Linked DNA regions of Homo sapiens: regions 2, 3, 4, 5, 6 and 7 are each linked to region 1. The links are contacts of gene promoters, found by promoter capture Hi-C in blood cells and fetal thymus (Javierre and others, 2016). All regions are on one chromosome and are shown on one strand. Each heading gives the region's core, a stretch centred on a gene start or on the middle of the fragment in contact. The rest is flanking DNA. Distances are from core to core; before and after follow the strand shown.

Region 1 (2,575 bases), core at 52-2,551:
CAAATTCATTTCAAGCGATTCAAATTTCTATTCCTGTAAAAGTCGTTTTTGCACCCAATAAAATACTACATATTTTCTTTAATCTTTCAGCTAAATTCTTCAAAGCTCTCTGTAGTGTGGATGTGTACTGAGCCTGAGTCAGGACAGGTTAATCGGCTTGTCAAAGCTCACGAAATGAATCATTGCTGGATTTCTGAAATCTTGAATTAAACCTGGAGAGGATTACAGTTGGACAAACAAATAAGATTTGGCAGATTTTGGAGTTTCCTTGGTATCTTTAAGAACTGAACAGATAATCATCTCTTTCTTACCTCCCTGAATAAAGGAGTTACATGTCTTTTTCTCATGAACCCTCCCCGTCTCCCTAGTAGGAATTAATCTATATAACTAGAGGAAAGAAGTTCTAAAGCCTTACACAAGAAATAGTGGACCTAATTATCCACACATTGTTATTCAATTTTTCTGGTACTTCCGATAAAAATCGCTAATCACCATCTGCTTTATTCCTAATATCTCTGAGCTGTGTAGCTCACCAGATCATTATTTATTTGCTCAAGAAAAAAAAGCAACTATACTATTAGTATTTATTATTAAGTAGTCAAACTTGGAACTACTCAGGAAGATAATGCTATCAAAACTAAGCATTTAAGCATTAACTGGACCATCGAACAGGATCGTGGGTTGGGTATTCTGAGCTTCAGCTCCTTAAAGTCCAATGGCAGAGGTCTTTCCCTAGTCTCCTAACGTTCCTCCGTTGAATTTATTGGGACGGCTTTCTGAAAGATTGAGGGCTTATTTAGGAAACCCATTATTTGAAAGGAGGGTTGAAGCAATTTGTTGTGCTGTCTTAACATAAAAAGCAACCCTCCATCCAAAATGTACTGAGTGGTTACTAAGTATGAGGCCTTGGAAGGTCTCCCAACTCTTCTAACAGGTACAGGACACCCTGGGCTACTAAGGGCGAGAAATTCAGTGAGTGGCTCTCAGGAAGACTGTGGTGGCAAAAACAGCACCTTGAAGTCCAACAGAGGCTCCTCCGGAGTGGCCCCAAGGCTCAAAAGGCGCCGCCAGTGGGAGGCCCTCGCCTTCGTCCCAACACCCATTACCCGCCAGCGCAGCGGGCCGCGCCTCCACGGGAAGGATACGTTCCAGGTAGTAGGCGCCCTCAGCCGCCACCGCGTCCGCCGTGTCCCTCGCGTCCCCGGCTGCCGTCAAACCCATGCCCAACGCCTCTTCCAGGACCCTCACGGCGGAGCTGGGCATCCCTCGCTGAGCAGCCATCTCTGGCGCTTCGGGCCCCCACCCCCAGCAGGCCCACAGCCGTCCCTAAGGGCAACAGCGAAGACGCTACCCAACGGCCCCCGGGAGCTCTCGCGAGATTCCGGCATCTCTCACCCCGCCCCACGGACCAGCCCCGGGCACGTAAGGGTTACCGGGAGTCCAGGGAGCTGTCGCCCTCCCGCGCCTCCCAGTTACCGTGGCAACGATGTTGCCTAGTTAACGCGAGAGCTCGGGCGCAGCTCTGGGAGCGGACAAGATACAGTAAACAATTGGCTTGCATTGCACCTTCCTACCCAAGCAGCTTGGTTTTCTTTCGCTTTGACCCTGTAATTTCTTTCCCACTTCGTTGTCGTCTCTGAATTACCTTTCTCTTGATTCTTGCCCATTAGCATCCTCCAATTTCAGATGTTTGTAGATCCCCAAGTGTTCCCAGGGAAAACTACTAGAAAAGGTGAGTTCTCAACACCTGGAATTTTTTAAAAAATGAAAAAATAAAGTTCTAGAAATCATAATAGAAAGACTGACCCAGGGGAGCTACCAGACGCTCCTCAGATGCTTAGCAATGAAGAACTATGGTGTTCAGCTTTGTCAATTCCTTTCTTGTGATCTTTAATGCATTTAGCTGGACATCTGTTTTGAGTTTGGTTCCATATACTAAGACTTGGAATAGTATTTGTAGCATTGATTCTCGCCAAGGTAAAAACAGTTGCATAAAAATTATGAGCTACAAATTTGGTCCTGACAAATGTATGCAGTTGACACTTGCCCCATCATGTATAGTCTTATTGCTGAGAGGATCTTCCTCAGGTTATATCGCGTATGTATCAGAAGCAAATTCAAGGCCCTTTTCTTTGCAAATATTTTTTTTTCCCTTAACTTTTATTTTAGGTTCAGGGGTACAAGTGCAGGTAAGCTCATGTCGCAGGGGTTTGGTATATAACTTATTTCGTCACCCAGGTACTAAGTGTAGTACCCAATAGTTATTTTTTCTGATCTTCTCCCTCCTCCCACTCTCCTCCTCAAGTAGGCCCCAGTGTCTGTTGTTCCTTCTTTGTGTCCATTTGTTCTCATTATTTAGCTCCCACTTACAACTAAGAACATGCAGTATTTGGTTTTCTGTTCCTGCATTAGTTTGCTAAGGATAATGGCCTCCAGCTGCATTCATGTCCCTGAGAGGACATGATCTCATTCTTCTGTGGCTGCATAGTATTCCATGGTATATGTGTACCACATTTTCTTTATCCAGTCCGTTGATGGGCATTTAGGTTGAATCCATGTCTTTATCATGAATATC
Region 2 (2,575 bases), core at 42-2,541, 2.0 Mb before region 1:
ACAGTTGTGTGCCACCACACCCAGCTAACAGGTGTTTTTAAAATACGTTTTAATTATTTTGAAAGAGTTTCAAAGTTTCAGAAAAAATACAAGAAAAACACAATAAACTCTCACATACCCTTCACTCAAACTCCTCAATTGTTTTGGAACGATCAAATTGGCATGATCTTGGCTCACTGCAACCTCTGCCTCCTGGATTCAAGCGATTCTCGTTCCTCAGCCTCCCAGTTACCTGGACTACAGGCACGCACCACCACACCTGACTAATTTTTGTATTTTTAGTAGAGACAGCATTTCCTTACATTGGCCAGGCTGGTCTCGAACTCCTGACCTCAGGTGATCCACCTACCTCGGCTTCCCAAATTGCTGGGATTACAGGCATTACAGGTGTGAGCCACTGCACCTGACCTGTTTGGGTTTTTTTTGTGTGTGTGTGACAGCATCTCACTGTGTTGCCTAGGCTGGTCTCAAACTCCTGGACTCAAGTGATCCTCCTGCCTTAGCCTCCCAAGTAGCTGAGATTACAGGTGCATGCCACCGCACCTGGCAATTTAAAAGAAAAAAAAACATATTTGCTTCATCATTGGCACTCTCTCTCTCTCTCTCTATACACACACACACACACACACACACACACACACATATATATTCATTCCACAGATGTATCATGTATATTATATATTCATATATAACACATATTTTATATTTTTACCCCTAAGCCATTTGAGAATTACAAACGTGCCCTATTACCTTTTGACAATTCAGTATGTAGCTTCTAACAACAAGAGCACTCTCCCACCTAATGAGAGTTCAACCATGAAAATGAGAAAATTGGGGTTTATTCCTTACCATGTTGAGTGTTTTTTTTTTTTTTTTTTTGGTAAACTTTTTGTCTGAGAATAACATACATACAGACAAGGGCACAAATCATAAGTATACATCTGAAGGAATATCCAGCAAGTGAACACACTTGCATAACCAGCAGACAAATGAGGAAATAGATTATTATCAACATCCAAAAGCTCCCCACCCTATGTCATATCTTAGTTGCTTCCTCCTCCTCTTCAAAGGTGACCATTATCCTGATTTCCATCACCATAAATTAGTGTTGCCTGCTTTTGAACTTTATATGAATGGAATTACATACTATGTACCCCCCCTCCTTTTTTTTTAGATGGCGTTTCACTCTTGTTGTCCAGGCTGCAGTGCAATGACACCATCTCAGCTTGTCTCCTGGGTTCAAGCCATTCTCCTGCCTCAGCCTCCTGAGTAGCTGGGATTACAAGCATGCGCCACCACACCCGGCTAATTTTGTATTTTTAGTAGAGATGGGGTTTCTCCATGTTGGTCAGGCTGGTCTCGAACTTCCAACCTCAGGTGATCTGCCCGCCTCAGCCTCCCAAAGTGCTGGGATTACAGGCATGAGCCACCGCACCCGGCCCCCACTTTTTGTTTTAAAAAACAGCTTTTTTCCACTCAATATTACATATGTGAAATCTATTATTATTGCTGGAAATATCTGTAATTTGTTTATTTCTCATTGCTATACAGTATTTCTTGTGTGAACACATCCCAATTTATCCTTTCTACTGCTATTGGACATACAGATCATTCTCTGTTTTTGGCTATCAATATTTTTGTACTTTTTTGGTGCACATGTGTATACATTTCTGTTGGGTTTACTACTAGAAGTGGAATGGTTATGTGACAAGGTGTATGCAGTTTAGCTTTAGTACCTCCTGTACTGCCAAATAATTCCCCAGAGTGATTGTACACAATCTTCAGCAGTATATGAGAGTTTCATTTGCCTCATATCCTTACCAGCACTAAATGTTATCATTATTTTTTATTCTAGCCCTCTGGTGGGTGAACAGTTTTTCTCGTTGTTGTTTTCTTTTTTTTTTCTTTTCTTTTTTTTTTTTTGAGACAAGAGTCTCGCTCAGCTGCCCAGGCTGGAGTGCAGTGGCACAATCTTGGCTCACTGCAACCACCATCTCCGGGGTTCAAGTGATTCCCCCATCTCAGCCTCCCGAGTAGCTGGGGTTATAGGCACCAACCATCATGCCCAGCTAATTTTTGTATTTTAGTAGAGACAGGGTTTCACCACATTGGCTGGTCTTGAACTCCTGACCTCAGGTGATCCACCTGCCTCGGCCTCCCAAAGTGCTGGGATTACAGGCGTGAGCCACCATGCCCAGTCTCATTGTTGTTTTAATTTGAATACCCTATGGCTAATGAGGTTAAGTATCCTTTTATATACTTACATACTACTTGAATATACTCTTTTGGGATGTGCTTGTGAAGTGCTAGATTTTAAATATCCTTACCTGACCCCAAAGTTGATTTTTTAAATTTATTTTTCTAAATTCTTCATATACGTCATGAAATAAGTAAAGTTTTACTTGGGAGAGATGAACTATGCTGTAACTGTACCAGCATCAGTTGTTTTAGTTATCTATTTATCACTGCACACAGAGCAAATTACTCCAAAACTTACTGGCTTCAAACAATAATAAACATTTATGATAGCATAAATTTCCTGAAGGTGAAGAATCCGGGGGCACATTAGGTCATT
Region 3 (2,575 bases), core at 41-2,540, 2.0 Mb before region 1:
CATCCTGGCCAGGCTGGTCTTGAACTCCCGACCTCAGGTGATCTGTCCACGTTGGCCTCCCAAAGTGCTGGGATTACAGGTGTGAGCCACCACGCCTGGCGAGTATGTATTTATATATGAACTTTAAGATGCTATTAGACATGCAAGTGAAGAAATTGATTAGGCAGTGAGATTTGAGAGTTTGGGGCTCGGGAGAGAAGACTGGGCTGAATGAGGTGCAGGAGTCATCAGTGTTCTAGGTATGCAACTGGACGTCATGAGAATACTTATTCCCAAGCACTTAATGTTAAGAGGACAAGGTGAAGAGGGGGAACCAGTGAAGGAGACAGGAAAGGATCAGTGGTGAGGCAGCAGGACAGCCAAGAGGGTCTAGTGTTCAGGAAGAAAGAAAGGAGAATGGATAGAAGAGCCAGCAACTGCCTGTGAAGCTCCATGCCTAGACTCTGCAACCCTCAGGCAACTTCCACCCAGAAGCATGATAAAGTGGCCTTGCACTGTGGAAATTTTCCTCTGAAAGAAAACAGGTGGGGACATTTATCTCATTCCGGTGGGGACATTTATCTCATTCCTACTTCCTCCCCCGCATCAATCACAGATTTGCTTTATTTAAAAAAAAATCTTAGTATCAATTAAATTTTACTATCTAAGAATAAAATGCAGTAAAGAGAAATGTTGAAATGATGTAAACCATCGGACCTTCTGCACTTTACGAAATTTGATACTTCCTTCTTATGCATGTGTCATTTGATTATTTCAATAGTCTCTCAGATTGGAAGAGCTTGTATGATCCCATTTTATAGGTGCAAAAACTGAAGCTTAGAGATATTATTTGCTGAAACTGCTTTTTTGGCCTAGTAAGTATTACAGATTTCCGCAAAGCATATATTTTCATAATGTGCATTTGGGACTAAAATTTGAAGCATACCATAGCTATGTGAAGACTGACAATTTTTTCTGACTTTTTCTCACACAGGGTACTTTATAAAGACATATTTAAAAATATTTATTCTTGACATTTTGGAAGAAACTTGGGGAATTTTCACCCAGAAAATACAATCCTTTTACATTTAAAATTCATAGGAAGACAGTTGTAATATATATATAGGAAATTCTTCTTTGTAGGGCAGCTTTGCAAAAGTTACCAAAATCTGAACTTTTGTATGTCCAACTTTGATCCAACAATTCTACAACTAGAAATTTACCTTAAAAAAATCAGAGAGAAAAGAGTTAGACTAAAGTATATTTGTTACCTAAAAAAATTGGAAACAACCTGAATAAATGTTGTCATATCAAGAAAATGGGCCAGGCACAGTGGCTCATGCCTGTAATCCCAGCACTTCAGGAGGCCGAGGCGGGTGGATCACTTCAGGTCAGGAGTTCAAGACCAGCCTGGCCAACATGGCAAAACCCTGTCTCTACTATAAATACAAAAAATTAGCCAGGCACGGTGGCAGGCGCCTGTAATCCCAGCTGCTGGGGAGGCTAAGGCAGCAAAATGGCTGGAACCTGGGAGGCGGAGGTTGCAGTGACCTGAGATTGCACCATTGTACTCCAGCCTGGGCAACAAGAGTGAAACTCTGTCTCAAAAAAAAAAAAAAAAAAAAGAATGCTGCAAAACTGAAAAATGATGCAACACAACATTTAATGACTGCATAGCTAAGTAGGAGAGGAAAGCAGGTTGATAAGCAGTATGTATGATGTCGCCCCATTTTTATTATAAATTATATCTATAAATTGAGGAATAACTGGAGGTCCACAAGCTTTTTCTGTGAAGAGCCAGATAGTAAATATTTTAGGCTTTATATGGTTCCTATTACAACTACTCAGCTCAGTTGTAGTGCAAAAATAATCGCCCACAGTATAGGCATAGCTGAATTCAGCCCCTGGGGTACATAGTAGTTTGTAGACCCCTGCTCTATCATTGTAAACATTGATTATCTCTGGGAGCTATAATTCTAGATTTAATATGCTTTGTTGTTTTTGCTTCTCCACAAGGTCGTAGATCATTTTTAAATTTCTTATAAAAGTACAAGATTTGATGAAATTATAATAAAGCATTTAATTATTTTTTTTGTATTATTAAGATAGACTATTGTTAGTAATTCAATCCGAATAGGATTAGGTCGCATAAATATTACAAAACTTTTATCAGAAGAATATATTAAAATAAAGGCAACTGTTGATTCCTTGGATACTGAGCATATTCTTTTATAGCCTAGTTATGATGTTTTATTTTCTATGCAATATGTGCTCAAAAATATGATTATTTTAATATTAGCTTCAAAAAAATATAATTAGAAATTAGGAAGTTTGGTAGGACAAATAGAGCTTGCATTTCAAATAATTTTCCAAAGACTTCTAGATTTTGAAGTGTGTGTGGCGTTCTTTGCCTCACTGGAAGAGAGAACCGGTCAATTAATTGTGTAACTCAAATATCTTCTGGAGCTCTTAGGCCTTCCAGCCTTGTCAGTGGTGTACTGGTAAATGTTTAACAACCAGCACTGGTGGGGGATGGCGAGGAGGGAAAACTCAGATTTGTAGCATTTGCCAATTTCTGTGGTGTAAATATTCTCAA
Region 4 (2,575 bases), core at 57-2,556, 1.9 Mb before region 1:
GCAAGGCGGATTCGTTATCTCCATTTTAAAGGAGAGAATTAGACTCAGGGAGGCATAGGTGTCTAACTAGAAGATATTAGAGCCAAATTTCAAGGAGAAGACCTGTCAGATTCTTCTAGGTCTGCTACCTTTCTTCATTAGGGTCTGCACTCAATACATGTTGGATAAATAAATGTTCTTAAAATATAGTATTTATAAATTATATGATAATTGTCTGGTCTGCATTTAATTTTAAGGAACTAATGGGCATTCAAACTTAAGCTACTGGCATGTTCTGAGATGGACATTTTGATTCTAATATGAGTAAGCATCCGGGTATTACATTCATTTACAAGCTTTGGATATGTTCTAGCGATTCTGATACACCTTGTTTGCTCACACACCCCTCCTCCACAGCACATTGATTTGCCCCCTTACACCTACGAGCGAGGGGACTCCTTCTTGCTTACATAAGGTACCTTCTTTTTAGAGTAGCACTATGATAAACACATGTTCAACTGCAGTCATTTTGGGCAAGACTTTGGGTTTAAAAGTATGATGAATTGACGTAATTCTCATTATAATTACAAAGTGCAAACTACACAAACTCCTCTTGATCTCTCTAGGCAAACACTTTTGCTAAACACTCTCTTGGGGGTCTCATTACCATAGGAAAGACTGCCTGGGACAGTTTGCAAACTGTCATTGACCACCAACCTTGAATGAAGTGTGAAGGCAAACAAAGAGGAAGTGATCATGTGTTATGTAAAAATAATTTAGAATATTTTTAACAGGTCTTTATCTTAAGAAGGGTTGAATAAAGCAATGATCAAAGACGAACAATTTTTAACTTTTACATATTGTTCTCTATGCCAGGAAATGTTCAAAGTGGCCTACTTGAGTTTTCTCATTTAATCCTTCTATGAGATAGGCGCTATTAATTTCATCTTACAGATGAAGACACTGAGCAGGCAGTGCCTTGCCAAGGGTCACACCCTTAGCAAGGAGTGATGGCAGGATTCAAACCAACATCTATCAAACTGCAAGGTCCACATCTGTAACTTCCCAAACTGCTTCTGAGAAATCTTCATTGTCTCAAGGATTGAGAAACCTTGACACAGTATAGGATGTCTGTGAACATCTAAAACTTCACATGTTCACAATAGACCCTTTCCTCTCCCACCCCACATCCACCCTGATTTTCCCTCTCCCTCTCTCGCTCCCTCCCTCCCTCTCTCTCTCTCTCCTTTTCTTTTTTCTTCTCTTCCCTTTTCTTTTCTCTTCTTTCTTCTACCAGGACAACAATTCACATGGTCACGAAGCTGGAAATGTTGACATCTCTCAACTGCTCTTAGTATTTAATTAGTTGCACAGCTCTGTGGCTTCTCCTGTGCATTGTGCCTTGAGTCTATCTCTCACTTTTCCTGTCTATTCCTATGACTTGATCTCAGTGCTCATTGCTTCTCATCTGGAAAATTGACGTCATTTTCTTACTAGTTCTCCTACCTCCTTTATTATTATTATTATTTTGGTCCATCCTATCATTATGCCAATATTCATCCTAAAGCTAAGCTATGATAATTCCTCTCCTCTGAGTTTTAAAAACAAGTCTTTATGTCTTCTGTATATGGAATTATGTCCAAATTTCTCACTTGAGGTTGTGGGGAGATGAATTGAGATCTTATTCCCTACTGCTATCGGGAAAGATGTGAGGATTTTTTCAACCAGAGAGAGCCATTATCCACTAAGGTTGTGGCCCTTACATTCAAGCAGCCACAGGAAGTAGTCACATGCTTGTTATCACAATGAGTCCCAGGTTGCTATTTCACAAGCAATGCAATCAAAGCCATGTTGCAAAGAGAAGTATGACTTCCCCATAGGAGATTAAATTGTGTTGTTTGGAAAAGAAAATTAATGTTTGCTCTAGTGAGATTTGTTTGCCTTTAGGTAACCTGGGAGGCTGACAGCAGTAGCCTTTGCTGCTTCAGCTTCTTCCTCACCTCAAGAGACCAGAACCCACCTATCCCAGTTGAGAGCCTGAAACTCCTAAGCAAAGGAAGGGCTGCGTTACTCTATTTGATTGAAGATTGAGGTTTCCATGACAAATACAAGATGCAGCTGTTTCCCTACAGGGAAAGGGGTGGAGTTTTAAGAGTGAAGGGGATTGAGATTCCAGATGTTGAGAGTAAGATTAAAAAGGGATTATGGGATGATTGTGAGAGGGATTTAAAAGATAAACCACAGTTGGGAATGAGAGGAACACCTCCTTCTCTATCACTCTCTGTAAGTATAAGCTTTTATTTTGATGTTTCTTTTCTTTCCTTTTCCTCCCCTTTCTTCCTATCTGCCTCCTCCTTCTCCCCCTCTTCATTTTTCATGGAATTCTAAGAATTGTATGGAATCAATATAATCTATGGAATCCATATGTTTCAACCACACTGTAAAGTATTCTTCTCCTCCTCTTCCTTCTACACTTCCTCCTCTTCTCCTCCTTCTCTCATCCTCCTCCTCTTCTCCTTCTCTTTCATCCCCCTCCTCTCCTCCTCTCCTCCTCCACGTCTTCATAAATCAGTTTGATTATTGTCTGTCTCCCTCT
Region 5 (2,575 bases), core at 49-2,548, 1.9 Mb before region 1:
CAATGATAAAGAGATCAATTCGGCAAAAGGATATAACAATTATAAATTTATATGCACTCAACACCGGAGAACTCTGATACATAAATATTATATTACTAGATGTAGGCCAGGTGTGGTGGCTCACGCCTGTAATCTTAGCACTTTGGGAGGCTGAGATGGATGCTTCACAAGGTCGGGAGTTCAAGACCAGCATGGCCAACATAGTGAAACCCTGTCTCTACTAAAAATATAAAAATTAGCCGGGCACGGTGGCACACGCCTGTAGTCCCAGCTACTCAGGAGGCTGAGGCAGGAGAATTGCTTGAACCCAGAAGGCAAAGGTTGTGGTGAGCCGAGATCACACCACTGCACTCCAGCCTGGGCAACAGAATGAGACTCGGCCTCAAAAAAAAAATTATATTACTAGATGTAAAGGAAAAAATAGACTCCAATACAATGTACAATAATAGTGGGGGACTTCAACACCCCATTCGCAGCAATAGACAGGTCATGTGGACAGAAAACAAAAAAGAAACACTGAACTTAAACTGGACTTTAGACCAATGAACTTAACCTTTACTGTTTCCAATGGCTACAAAATACACATTCGTCTAATTAGCACATGAAACATTCTCCAGGATAAATCACATTAGTTCACAAAAGAAGTCTCAGCAAATTTTTTAAAAATCAAAATCACATCAAGTATGTACTCAGAGCAAGTATCTTTACTGTTAATCTGATTAGATTCCCTTACAGGTGACTAGATACTTTTCTCTTACTGTTTTTACAATTCTCTTTATTTTTGACTTTTTACAGCTTGACTATAATGTGCTGTGGAGAATGTCTTTTTGCATTATAAATATTTGAGAATCTCTGAGCTTCTTGTATCCAGATGTGTAAACATCCTGCTAGACTCGGGAAGTTTTCCACTATTAATAAAACTGGAATAAAAGTGGACTAAAACTAGCAATCAATAAGAGTAACTTTGGAAATGATACAAATACATGGAAGTTAAACAACGTGCTCCTGAATAACCACTGGGTCAATGAAGAAATTAAGAGAGAAAATTTTAAAAATGTATTGAAACAAAAGAAAATTGAAACACAGCATACCCAAAACTATGGGATATAGCAAAAGCAGTGCTAAGATGGACATTTGTAGCAGTAATACCTACATCAGAAAAATGGAAGATTTCAAATAAACAGTCTAATGATGCACCTCAAGGAACTTGAAAAGCAAGAACAAACCACATCCAAGATTAGTGGAAGGAAAGAAACGATAAAGATCAGAGCAGAACTAAATAAAATAGAGACTTAAAAAAACAATACAGGCCGGTCACTGTGGCTCACGCCTGTAATCCCAGCACTTTGGGAGGCCGATGCGGGCGGATCACGAGGTCAGAAGATCGAGACCATCCTGGCTAACACGGTGAAACCCCGTCTCTACTAAAAATACAAAAAATTAGCCGGGCGTGTTGGTGGGCACCTGGTAGTCCCATCTACTCGGGAGGCTGAGGCAGGAGAATGGCGTGAACCTCGGAGGCGGAGCTTGAAGTGAGCCGAGATTGAGCCACTGCACTCCAGCCTGGGCGACAGAGCAAGACTCCATCTCAAAAAAAAAAAAAAAAAAAATACAAAGGATTAATGAAATGAATAGTCTCATTAGAGACTATTATGAACAACTATGCACTAACAAACCGGAAAACCTAGAGGAAATGGATAAATTCCTGAACACATACCATCTTCTAAGGTTGAATCAGAAAAAAAATAGAAAACCTGAACAGACCAATGAGTAACAAGATTAAACCAGTAATAAAAAGTCTCTGAGGAAAGAAAAGCCGAAGACCAGATGCTTCACTGCCAAATTGTACCAAATGTATAAAGAATTAATGCTAATTTTCCTGAAACTATTCCAAAAAGTTGAAGAGGAGGGAATTACCCCTAACTCATTCTATGATACCAGATGCTGTCTCTCCTGCTCTGCCGTGTGAAGATTATGCTTGCTTCCCCTTCGACTTCCACCATGATTATAAGTTTCCTCAGGCCTCCCTAGCCATGCCTCCTGCACAGCCTGTGAAACTGTGATTCAATTAAACCTCTTTTCTTTATGAGTTACCCAGTCTCAGGTAGTTCTTTATAGCAGTGTGAGAAAAGACTAATACAATAATGAAGGACAAAAACCATATGATCATCTCAAAAGATGCAAAAAAAAGCATTTGATAAAATTCAACTTGTCTTCATGATAAAAACTCTTCACAAACCAAAAACCCCACCAAAAAACTCTTAAAACTAAGAAATTCAGTAAAGTCTCAGGATACAAAATCAATAATTAAAATTAGTAATATTTCTATACACCAATAATGAACTAGCTGAAAAAAAATCAAGAAGGCAATACCATTTACAATAGCTACAAAAAATACCTAGGAATAAATTTACCCAAGTGGATGAATGACTACAAGGAAAACTACAAAACACTGATAAAATAAACTGAAGAGGACACAAACAAATGGAAAGACATCTCATGCGCATGGATCAGAAAAATTAACAGTGTTGAAATGCCCATACTACCCAAAGCCATCTATAGATTCAATGCAATT
Region 6 (2,575 bases), core at 57-2,556, 1.9 Mb before region 1:
GACCACCATTGGCTGCAATGGAAAATATTGATTTAAGGAAATACTGTTTATTCAACAAAAATTTACTGAGTCGAGCACTGTGTAGGCCCTAGAGATACACTGTGATGCCAATACGTGAAGGATTTTAATATTTACAATCTAATGAGGGAGACAAAGAGCAATGAAATAATCACACACAAAAAATGTAAATGCCAACTCTATAAGGGCTACCAAAGAGAAAAGCACAGTGCTGTGGATGTTAGGTTAGACATTTGTAAGAAAATGACTGCCAGAGAGAGTGAGTGGGTATGAAACTCAGAGAGGGCAGGAGGGAAGTGTGTGCAAGACCGTGACCCTGGGAAGGGAAAGAGTGGGATGAAGAGACAGTGAAAGAAAACAGGTAGGGAGAGTTTTGGAGGATGGTGGACTCTAAGTATTAGACCATAGACAGTCTTGTGGACCATTAAGCAGTTCCGTCGTTGTCCTAAACACAAAGGGAAGCCATTCAAGGGCTTTAAGAAAGGGAGTGACATCTTTAGACCTGTGCTTTGAAAAGATCATTTTGGCTGCAATTTGGAGAATAACTTGGAAAGGCAAGAGTGGATGCGTAGTTGTGTGTAGATCATGTATCACTGGTCAAGCCTTATTGAGAACTGTTACATGAAAGCAGCACTTAATTTATAAGAGAATAAAACTAATGGATGTCAAAAAATTCAATCTGATATTCTCCTAGATTAGTGGCTGCTGAAAACTTTCAGGACAAATGACTTAAAAAATCTCTCAGAAGAGAAAATCTACTATATTTCTTGGGAACAGATACTGACATTTGACTATTACAGGGGAACCCATTCAGTGCTTTAAAATGCCATACCTTTTATTGGATAACTTTCACAACAATATTGAGAAGCAATTTGGGAGCATAATTTCAATTTTACAGATGCGGAGTTTAAGAACCTAGGTACAGAGAGACCTAGTGACTTGTCCTGGGTCATGAAAAAATTGAATAGCAGTGCTAACTGTTGACTTTCTTCTCAAGCTTTCAATTCCTTGAGTTGTCTAGATGACTTGGCATTCACCAGAAATGTCTCAGAGCACTTAAAGTTAGACCACAATTAAGCATAATATTGTAGACTTGGCACACATCTCCCTAAGGTTATTCTAAGCATGAAACTGCACCCTTGACCTCAATTTTTACACTTTACATACACGTTTTGTTCACTTTTTCACTTAATTTCATCAATCCCTTCATGTTACTTATTTGTCCTTTAGGTTTATACACAGTAGTTTTATGAACTTATAAGGATGCCACTAAGTTCTCAACTCTACCCCATATAGATTTGCCAAAGGCTGTGTGTTTACTGCAATGAACGTGAGGGAGTTTTGAGAGTTGATGCATGTTAGCCCCATAGAAAATGATGTATATGAACTGTGGCCTTCTAATAAAATCTTTCTCCATTCTTTTTAAGGTGATAAAAGGTAAAATCTATAAATTGTTTCAGAAATTAAATTAATGGTAACAGTAATGTTCTTCCCTAAATGACGATTTTAATTAACGTCTCTTGTTTAACCTGTATTTGTAATATTGACTGCCTATTATCTAGAGTTTCCAAGAAGCTTTAAAAGTGTACTATCTTCTAAAATTCCTGGAGAATGACAATGAATGACTTTCCCACCTTTTTTTTCCCCCGACTACAGGCAGACTTCTGGCCTAGAATCAAAACTCAGAATTTTTATTAGTTTTTTTTTTAATTGCATTAGAGAAAGTAGTTTGAATGGTTTGATTATTCACAGCAATAGGGCATTAGCAGAAAAGAAAATATTTCATATCATAAAGATGTTATAATAGATATTGAAATTCATCTTTGAAATGCTGACAAAGCATTTAACCTTCCATCTTAGTCATTCAACTGTAACTATCTGGGTAAATTCAGGCAAAAGCCTTTCATGTGTTTTTAACTAAAACATCCTACTAATGGGGAGAAGTCTCGGGCTTGATTGAAATTATACATATATATTTCTACTTAAACCTTTATATTCTATTAGGCCAGTATATTCTTTTTGGCAAAGATTTCTAATTTTACCATTATTTAGTCAAAGTATTTGGAACTCTTTGGATCCAGTAATCAAGTAAATAAAAGTCTGGAAGATTAACTTAGTGGGTAAAATTGTGGGAAAAAGTTTAAGGAGGAGCAGGATTTTTGCATAGTCTCAAAGTGTCCTACTGAAAATAGTCATTCTACAGTGAAGAAACTTGGCATGCATTACTTCAACCAAGGCTCATAACTAACATTTGGCAAATGATATAATGGTGATGTTAACAGTGTGTCCTAGAGAAAAATTTCGTGTTCTTTGATCATGTATCCTCACGATGAAATAAAAGCCTGGTAAAATGTAAGCTCCATAATGTTTATCATCAGGGGCATAAACTTTTTTTTTTTTTTCTTTGGAGACAGAGTCTCACTCTGTCGCCCAGGCTGGAGTGCAGTGGTATGATCTCAGCTCACTGCAACTTCCGCCTCCTGGGTTCAAGTGATTCTAGCCTCCAGAGTAGCTGGGATTACAGGTGCCCGCCATCACACCCGGCTAATTTTTTTGT
Region 7 (2,575 bases), core at 41-2,540, 1.9 Mb before region 1:
TACCCAATTAATAGAATTAATTGACTACTTACTATGAGGCAGGACCTGTGCTAGATTCCTTTTTTTGGAGGGGGGATGGAATCTCACTCTTTTGCCCAGGCTGGAGTGCAGTGGCGCCATCTCAGCTCACTGCAACCTCTGCCTCCCGGTTTCAAGCGATTCTCCCTCCTCAGCCTCCCAAATAGCTGGGATTACAGGTGCCCACCACCATGCCTGGCTAATTTTTGTGTTTTTAGTAGAGACGGGGTTTCACCATGTTTGCGAGGCTGGTCTTGAACTCCTGACCTCAAGTGATCAGCCCGTCTCGGCCTCCCAAATTGCTGGGATTACAGGCATGAGCCACCGCACCTGGCGAAGGGAGAACTCTTAATGCTTTAACGGATTTTGCAAGTAAAGTCTGGATTAGTCAGGGTAGGTGTGAGGATCAAAGGGGAGCTTCACCCTACTAGCCTTGGCTCCAGTAGTTTATTCAATTACATTCAGCAGCAAGTATTGAACACTAATGATATGTAAAGTACTGTGATATAAAATAGTCCATGTCCTCAAATAATTTATAATCTTGTAGGAAAAATAAGACATACACAAATAAAAATAATGCAAAAACTTTAAGTTCCTTGAGAGAGGGCAACAAAGAATGATTCAAAGGCAAGAGAATCTATCCTATGGGATATATCCAAAAAGGCTTCATTGAAGATGTCAACTTGGGGATAACTTTGAAAGGCAGGATCTTAGAGAGGGAGGAATGTATCATGGAAAGAGGAAATAGAAATGTCTTGGATCAGCCTGTGTCCCCTTTCACTATAAGAGCCTGAAACAATGTGGCTTGTCTGTAATAGACACGTGAATCTCCACTCACGAATTGAGGGACTCCAGTTTGTAATTTATGTCCCCTACAGCCTACCTTTCCTTTTCTGCCCTGTGCTTAACCTAGTACATTGTGATGAAAGGTGGGACCTGGCCAACATAGTTTCTTCCCCCAAAATCGAAACATTCAACTTTAGGTTAAAGGTGGACACTTTCCCTAGTATATCTAATGATGGGCTGAGGCTCAGAGCTTTGCAGCTAAGCTCTGGCCTTATTGACTTAAATCATTTTAATGACACTTTAATATTAAAGAGTCACTGGGCCCAGTGTCTGTGAAATGCTCTCTGTGCCCTGCCTCTGCTAGAGCAGACACTGTGTGCAGGAAAGAAGACAAGAGAATGTAGGACAAGTCCTACTGGCCTTGCAAAGGTCCCACCCCCTAGTCCCTGTGACGCATCCAGTGCAGGTGACATGTTCTCTAAGGTGTGGATAGGCAATTAATTTCATGGAGAGTAGGAGGTGTGGGTTCAGCTGCTGCTTTTTTTTTTTTTTCAGTGAGGCATTATCTGAATGATGCTCATTCTCTCTTGAGTCTGGACTTCGTGCAACAAGCAGCAACTGGATATTATTTTAAAATAAGCATAAGCCACCCAAAGATACTGATCTGGGTCCTTCTTTTGGAAGAAGAGTTGATTGAGAAGTGCCTCTTGGTTAAGGATTAACCACAGGGAAAAATCCAGCAGAAACAGAAGAACTGTGGGTTTCTTACCCCAGCCCTCAAGGAAGCTATGCCGTGAAAGGGGTACTGATACACTGACATACAGCAAGTTGGACGGGGCATCAGTTCTTCATTTGTGGAGTGGAGAAAAGAAGAGGAAATCTCTCATTTGGGGCATTTGAAGGATGGCTTCCCTGTTTCATCAGCTTCAGATCCTGGTCTGGAAAAATTGGCTAGGTGTAAAAAGGCAGCCGGTGAGTTAAAAAAAAGTGTGGGAGTATGGGTCATGGGGCAATACGCCAGGTAATCCTAAAATGTGATCTTAATGAGAAGTGAAAACAGAAGAGTTTAAAGGCATTTTCCAAAGCAGGAAGTAAGATATTTAGAATTCATCCCCCTATCTGTCTTATAGCTAATGGAGCGAGTCTTAACATGCCCCCAAAAGCAGCCTTTTCATTTCAGTAAATTAAAGAGTAAACCAGGACATGCCCTGGGCAAAAAAAAAAGAACATGACTCATTACTGGCTGAACTGGAACGTTGAATTCTGGTTTCAAGCCAAAAGGCTTTCAGAATTTTTCTTAATGTAGTTAAAAATGGGATAGAGGAAAGAAAAGTATTATTTGAAATGTACAATAAATGGGAAGAAATATACTGGAAAACTGAAAGCCATAGAAAGTTTGGTTGAAAGGTAAAATACAGAACAGAAATAGTTTGAAGGCTATTAGTATAGAAAAGCTACTGAGAAATTTTAGTATCTAAAAATCATTTACTGGGAATACCAAACAAGAGTATGTATATGTGCTATGTTTTAAGAATATTATTGAATCACTTAGCTTTACTACTACAATCTATCTTCTCTTGCTCATTGCAACGTCTTTTTTGTACTCTTACATTAATGTTTGCGTTCTAATTACAAAGTTAGCTATTAGATCCTCATCAGATGGCTCCCAGGATGATTGAGAAAGGAATTGGTTTCTGGGAGTTGTTATATATTCAGAAGAATGTTTGAAAATCGGGGAAATCCAAAAAGGTATTCAATATACTTTATTTTA

What was found. Contacts are between HindIII fragments. The CHiCAGO score rates a contact against its expected background, and 5 or more counts as called.
Region 2: a fragment that was not itself captured here is called in contact with the fragment with the promoter of SPAG16 in region 1 in 10 of 17 cell types (naive CD8 T cells, non-activated CD4 T cells, total CD4 T cells and 7 more); the score reaches 21.8 in naive CD8 T cells.
Region 3: a fragment that was not itself captured here is called in contact with the fragment with the promoter of SPAG16 in region 1 in 10 of 17 cell types (total CD4 T cells, naive CD8 T cells, activated CD4 T cells and 7 more); the score reaches 15.1 in total CD4 T cells.
Region 4: a contact is called between a fragment that was not itself captured here and the fragment with the promoter of SPAG16 in region 1, in 1 of 17 cell types (naive CD8 T cells). The highest score is 6.7, in naive CD8 T cells.
Region 5: a fragment that was not itself captured here is called in contact with the fragment with the promoter of SPAG16 in region 1 in 1 of 17 cell types (naive CD8 T cells); the score reaches 5.2 in naive CD8 T cells.
Region 6: a contact is called between a fragment that was not itself captured here and the fragment with the promoter of SPAG16 in region 1, in 2 of 17 cell types (naive CD8 T cells and total CD8 T cells). The highest score is 6.0, in naive CD8 T cells.
Region 7: the fragment with the promoter of ABCA12 here is called in contact with the fragment with the promoter of SPAG16 in region 1 in 1 of 17 cell types (M0 macrophages); the score reaches 5.3 in M0 macrophages.

Annotation. Positions count from the first base shown.
Region 1 is chr2:213,283,190-213,285,764 of GRCh38, reverse strand. It overlaps SPAG16 (sperm associated antigen 16), which reads right to left and starts at 1,301. Exons shown (of 16, transcript NM_024532.5): 1 at 1,146-1,301. The coding sequence starts at 1,281. SPAG16-DT (SPAG16 divergent transcript) reads left to right here and starts at 1,556. Exons shown (of 3, transcript NR_161186.1): 1 at 1,556-1,732. RefSeq lists enhancers at 899-978, 1,049-1,098, 1,139-1,268. The HindIII fragment of the contact is 3,357 bases long and covers 1-2,575 here.
Region 2 is chr2:215,281,870-215,284,444 of GRCh38, reverse strand. No RefSeq gene overlaps it. Among named protein-coding and RNA genes, the nearest start is that of LINC02862, 8.2 kb to the right of the region's middle. The HindIII fragment of the contact is 5,494 bases long and covers 1-2,575 here.
Region 3 is chr2:215,264,477-215,267,051 of GRCh38, reverse strand. No RefSeq gene overlaps it. Among named protein-coding and RNA genes, the nearest start is that of LINC02862, 9.2 kb to the left of the region's middle. The HindIII fragment of the contact is 945 bases long and covers 818-1,762 here.
Region 4 is chr2:215,213,910-215,216,484 of GRCh38, reverse strand. No RefSeq gene overlaps it. Among named protein-coding and RNA genes, the nearest start is that of LINC02862, 60 kb to the left of the region's middle. The HindIII fragment of the contact is 1,938 bases long and covers 338-2,275 here.
Region 5 is chr2:215,177,562-215,180,136 of GRCh38, reverse strand. It overlaps LOC124907974 (a long non-coding RNA gene), which reads left to right. Exons shown (of 2, transcript XR_007088074.1): 2 at 796-2,575. Among named protein-coding and RNA genes, the nearest start is that of ABCA12, 40 kb to the right of the region's middle. The HindIII fragment of the contact is 4,431 bases long and covers 1-2,575 here.
Region 6 is chr2:215,155,938-215,158,512 of GRCh38, reverse strand. No RefSeq gene overlaps it. Among named protein-coding and RNA genes, the nearest start is that of ABCA12, 19 kb to the right of the region's middle. The HindIII fragment of the contact is 578 bases long and covers 1,018-1,595 here.
Region 7 is chr2:215,137,341-215,139,915 of GRCh38, reverse strand. It overlaps ABCA12 (ATP binding cassette subfamily A member 12), which reads left to right and starts at 1,290. Exons shown (of 53, transcript NM_173076.3): 1 at 1,290-1,776. The coding sequence starts at 1,708. The HindIII fragment of the contact is 8,560 bases long and covers 1-2,575 here.